2 separate regions of the Homo sapiens genome follow, and region 1 is linked to region 2. The links are contacts of gene promoters, found by promoter capture Hi-C in blood cells and fetal thymus (Javierre and others, 2016). All regions are on one chromosome and are shown on one strand. The core of a region is centred on a gene start or on the middle of the fragment in contact, and the rest is flanking DNA. Distances in the headings are between cores, read along the strand shown.

Region 1 (2,700 bases), core at 159-2,658, 760 kb before region 2:
GTACTGTTAATTTCAAATTGTTTGGGGAGAACAGAATACAATCTAATACTAAGAGAAAAGCCAACCAAATTCTTTGGGAAACTCTGTTCTTGATTTTAAGTACTTTTGTAAACATAGCATGTAATAAGTGATGAGACTATTTCTCAAAAACTCAAGTTCTAACAAATTTCCTCTTTTATAGTTCCTAGATGTCCTTTTCATATAATTCACAAAACTTTTATTCCCTCCTTCAAATCCCTGAATATTATCACATGAGCATTGTATGAGGGAAAAGCGTCTCAAGATTTTTATCTTATCTGTTTCTAAATCTCCTCTGGGCCTGTGCAACTCAGTTATGTCAGCTAGATTACAATGATCCCAACCTTGAAGATCCTGAGGAAGATTGCACAACATCCCTCAAGCATTTTTCTTACTGCCATAGTTTGTATTCTAAAATGGCAGAAACAGAGCTAAAATATTGATTTGTTTTTCTTTATCTAATCCATATCTTTCAGTCCTTTAGGACAACTGCGCTGTTTTCAAAAATTCAAATCGACTTTAACCACCACCCGAAGTGCAGCCTATAGGTAACTTCCCTAGATTATTATTAAACTCCTGAGAAGGGTGAGAGCCAAAGTATCAAGAGTGCCAAGGAGAAATGCAGAATCTCACAGGAAAGCAGAATTTTTTTTAAAAAGTTCCTGTAAGAGAATGGTGCCTTGAAACAGAAACTTAAACTGTGATGAGTTCTCCAAAGGTCCGTGAGAAAAAAGGATAGGTGAGAAACAGAGTTAAGAGTCGGTGACAGGGCAAAGGGCACAGAGGCATTTCTCAACTGCAGAGATGGGAGAACCCTGGAGGTTGGCCACCTCCCTTTTCATCCCATGGTTGATCGAACTCCCTCTACATATCCCAGACTAGGATCGCCCGGCCTGTCCTTATTTTAGAAGAAGTCACCTCTCCCACCCCCTTCTCCCAATGCCCCCTTTCAAGCACGTTGTCACCCACCTCCAAGGACCGTGCCCAGGAAGATGCATTTCTTTTTGTGGCGTTTCAGAAAATTCCATACAGACCTCAGCATCTTTAGGCCCTAGGGGTGTGGGCTGACTAGGGGTGAGGGACTGCTTCACCAGGAAACTGTTTCTTCGTCACCTGGCCCAGATGACCCAGCAAGAGCGCCGTCGTCCCGTTCTGTGCTCTCCCGAAATCACAAACGTGACTTTCCGCAGAGACTGTCACCGGAGCGGCAAGGGGGCGTGGACTACAGCAAAGCAGCTACGCTTTCTGCCGCTGCCGCCGCGCAGCCGCCGCCGCTCACTGGTCCGACAAGCCCAGGTCCGTTCAGAAATAGCTCCCGAGTGCCTTTTCATTAGACTACCCCCGGAAACGGGGTCCCGGGCCCGCCGCGTTCCGCTGCCCGCGCTCCTCCTCTGCCGCGGGCTCTGTAGCTGAGTGGTGGCTGGGTATGGAGGCGAAGGCGGCACCCAAGCCAGCTGCAAGCGGCGCGTGCTCGGTGTCGGCAGAGGAGACCGAAAAGTGGATGGAGGAGGCGATGCACATGGTGAGGAGCCCGGGAGGTAGATGCTGCGGGGTGGGACCTTTCTCCAGCCCTCAACCCGACCCCGGCATTTGAGCAAACGTTCTTTCTCGTCACCATAATTTTTATGGCAGTCAGATGTTCTGGGTGAACAACTGGCTTTACTGCCTCGAAACTTTCTGTAGCCCATTCTCACAGTGGCTCTGGGCGAAGGAAGGGGAGGAAATACACAAATTATTTGTTTCATTGCGGTGGAGTATGCTGCAGACTTAACATTCTGTCGCCGGCTGGCACGTGCTGCCTCCCTTTCCTTTCTGTGGTCACACACTCTCCAATCTACAAAGTCACATTATTTGAGGTTTTGGCCCTTGGAACATGTCCAGCAGAAGGAAGGAAACTGAGAACGTTTCTGGTAGAGAGCAGTATGGAAACAAGTCCCTGTACAATCGGCGTCTCGCATTCATTCATTATTTCCTCTGCCCTTTTACTTCCTTCCCTCACTCCCTTCAGGACTGCGAAATAAAGGGGGCTTTCAACAGAATGCTGTGTGCTAGCGAGCTTCTTAACTGGGAAAAAAAGTTTGTTTGTAAATATATGTATTTACATTTTAATAACTACATACAGCCACGTGCCACACAATGACCTGTCGGTAAAGGTCGTTATCCTGGAGCATTAAATCTACTCACCTTAGCCCTATTGTCCCATCCAAGTACTAACCAGGCCTGACCCTGCTTAGCTTCCGAGATCGGGGGACATTCAGGGTGGTATGGAGGTAGACAACCCTAGTTTCTATGTAGACTTCTGGGCTAAACACTTTCGCTACCTTTTAGGTTGACCCTGGGCTAGCACATGTAAATACATTTACATACGTTTACAAACAAACTTTTATCCCAGTTAAGAAGCTCGCTAGCACTTTTCAGCTCCATTATAATCTTATAGGACCACATATACAGCGGTGGTGCTATAGGATTATAATGAAGCTGAAAAGTTCCTGTTGCCCAGTGACATGTAGCCCTCCTAACAAGTACTTTTTTTCCTTTAAGACCTTGAAGAAACTTGTATATGCTAAAACCCAAGAAGCAGCTGCCTCCTTAATCCTGTGTAGGAGGACGTAAACTATGGAATCACATCCCTAGGTGTTTATAATACAATTAAGAGACAAAAAATGTCAAAGCCAGAGAGGT
Region 2 (2,700 bases), core at 12-2,511:
AGCCCCGGGTTTTATCTTTTTTTTTTAACCTTCCTTGTGGTTGCTTTGTCATATTCTTTTTCTTTTATAAGAAGCACTGTTTGGTAATAGCCACAAGAATTGTGGGGGTGGGGAGACCATTTTTACTAAGAGATAGGGTTGTATCCTGCATAGGCAACATAAGGAATGGTAGCAATTTTTTTAAGAGGCTACACATGTGGAAAGGCCTCCCATTGCTTTATCCTCTCCACTGGATCTCTCCTGTATTCCTTCTGCCTTCCTGTTATTCCTTGCCAAAAGAAATGTTTTTCTGTCATTCTTTGAAGCCATTTTAATTTTGTTCTGGAGTGGGCTCCAATTTGTTTAAGTGTGGGATTGCACGTTGATACAAATAATTACAACTGTTAAAGTTTGAAATAGAGCCCTATTAGGGAAAAACTACAGTTAAAATAAAAGCTTTCATCAGGACAAAAGCTTTTAGGAGGTGGAAGACCCATATGACACTGAAAATTTCATAGTAATTGCCAAAATGCATTTACGAGTTGCTTGTTGCCAACACTTGGTGGGCACTGTGCATAACAGTGATAAACCTCATGGATTTAGCAAGTTAGCGCCACTAGACACTCTCTAAAACACAGCCACAGCGCCAGTATTGGGTTCCAGTGGACAAAGAAAAAGCCTTCTCAAGGGAATGAAACATTCATTTTTCTAATTATTCCCCAGGCCAAAGGTTGAGTGAGTAACTTCCCAGGAAATCCACAAGCCTCAGCTCTGGACTCTTCATCCTCACGCCACTCACTCAGCTACTCTCTGTTTGCAGTAAAAGAACAGAATGGAGCAAGAGTTTTTTAAAATTAGATTATAAAAGACCAAGCTCTGCTGAAATATTGGAGAGGTGGGGATCTGAAGGGAGGGGTGATGTGTCAAAGACTTTCAAGGCTGTATGACCTGATGGAAGATGAAACACAGGAGAAATGAGAGCAGGGATATTGACCAAGGGCCCTCTGATCTGCCGTTGTATTTAAAGCAATGATTCTCCCTCCTTCCCTGGGACCCCTGGGGGTAGATCATCTGAATGCTTGTCTCTTAGGGAAATGGTATGGGGTGGAAAGCGGCGAACGCAGCAAGGGTTCAGGAAATGCCTGGCTTGTGAGTGGAGGAGAGGATTCTAGCAACTCTTCATGCTTCCAAGTGATGTCATTGGGAAACCAATCCTGGAGAAAGGGGGCCGTCGCTGATAAAAATCACTGTGGAGAAGATGGCCTAGAAGATCCCGAATCTTAGTCCTCATGCGCCCCCTCGTGTAGGATGTGGGGTAGTGCCTTGGTTGCTGGGTGGTGAAAAATCTGTCATTCTCAAGGGACCACCGTTGGAGAAAAAGGGACGTTGAGGGGGAAATGCATGAGAAATAGAATAAAGTTAAGTAATGAGTTAATTTTGCAGTTGTGACAATTGTAGGCTACAAATTAATAGTTGATTTAAAAAAGCAAGTAGCTTTGAAAGCCCAGGACTAAAATGCGAAGAAACTGAGCAGAATCGCCACTGTGTAGACCAGAGCTTCTCAAACTTCAATGTGCATATGAATAATCATCCTGGGAGCTTGTTAAAAATCTAGATTTTTTATTTACTAGTTCTGGACGGGGCCCTCGATTCTGTACCTTTAACAAGCTCCCAAGTGGTGTAGAGGATGCTGGTCCGTGGACCACACTTTGATAACACTTGCAATAGTGTGCAGGACTGACCTGTCCCCTCAGATAAGCCTGTTTGTATTGGAGGGTTCTGAAGTTCAGCTAGAACTTCTATCTCCACCAGATCTCCCAGGATCCCTGCTAGCACACTATACAGTAATTCCTTCATTTATTGGTAGTGCGGTAAATTTGTCAGCTCAAAGATAATTACCTTTTATTTCCTGAACTTAAGTAGCATTTACCAATAGCACTTACTGTTTGTAATGTTGAATTGTTAATTGCTATATATTACCTTGTGATTTCAAGAGTTTATTTTGTTTTTGCAATGAAGTGGTCCTGCATAGTTTAGGGTGTTTAAGAGACAATTACAGAATTAGTTGATTGGCTTCTACTATAAGCTTTGATTTGAAAAAATTACAAATCTTTCTCCTAAGTGTGAATTTTGAATTTGAGGTGGCAGAGGGAGGAAGGGTTAGGTGTCTGAAGAAAGTGAAGAGAGGATGTCTAGGGATAATTTGGACATCTTGTAGCATTCAAGATAAATATATTCAAAGTTTTACCTAAGGCTTTTCTTAGAGTTAGATGTCTTGTTTTGAATTCGACTTAGGTTCACACTTAAAGTTACTCTATGTAAAAATGTTCAGACATCCTGAGCAGACATAGAACAACAACAAATGGATTTGATAACAGAATACAAGATAGAATTAAAGATAAAGTCCTTATGTGCTTTGAAGAAATAAAAGATGAGATTTCAAGTCAAGGAAAATAGATTGTACACCTAGTGACAAGACCTCTTTATTTTCATTTTGAAAGATCACAGAGTGACTACAATATGAAAAGATTGTGTGTAGGCTATCATTTCATGCTTGAGAAACAAATAGATGAAGATCATTTCATGTACCACTGGGCTGGGTGTTTAGAGACAAATGTGTTTCTTACCTGCTAGTGTAGACCAGTGAGCAGCAGGAAAGGATATACATTCCCAGCCATGGGCAATCCTTTATCCGCATGTGTGGCCAAGGATTTTTCATAC

What was found. The method cuts DNA at HindIII sites, captures the fragments that hold promoters and counts their contacts. A CHiCAGO score of 5 or more calls a contact.
Region 1: the fragment with the promoter of ADAT2 here is called in contact with a fragment that was not itself captured in region 2 in 13 of 17 cell types (M1 macrophages, total B cells, naive B cells and 10 more); the score reaches 10.6 in M1 macrophages.

Annotation. Positions count from the first base shown.
Region 1 is chr6:143,449,403-143,452,102 of GRCh38, reverse strand. It overlaps ADAT2 (adenosine deaminase tRNA specific 2), which reads left to right and starts at 1,408. Exons shown (of 6, transcript NM_182503.3): 1 at 1,408-1,540. The coding sequence starts at 1,445. It overlaps PEX3 (peroxisomal biogenesis factor 3), which reads right to left and starts at 1,298. Exons shown (of 12, transcript NM_003630.3): 1 at 988-1,298. The coding sequence starts at 1,060. It also overlaps the pseudogene RNA5SP221. RefSeq lists enhancers at 1,458-1,617, 1,420-2,402 and silencers at 2,158-2,237, 2,298-2,377. The HindIII fragment of the contact is 8,229 bases long and covers 1-2,700 here.
Region 2 is chr6:142,691,624-142,694,323 of GRCh38, reverse strand. No RefSeq gene overlaps it. Among named protein-coding and RNA genes, the nearest start is that of HIVEP2, 250 kb to the left of the region's middle. The HindIII fragment of the contact is 1,612 bases long and covers 456-2,067 here.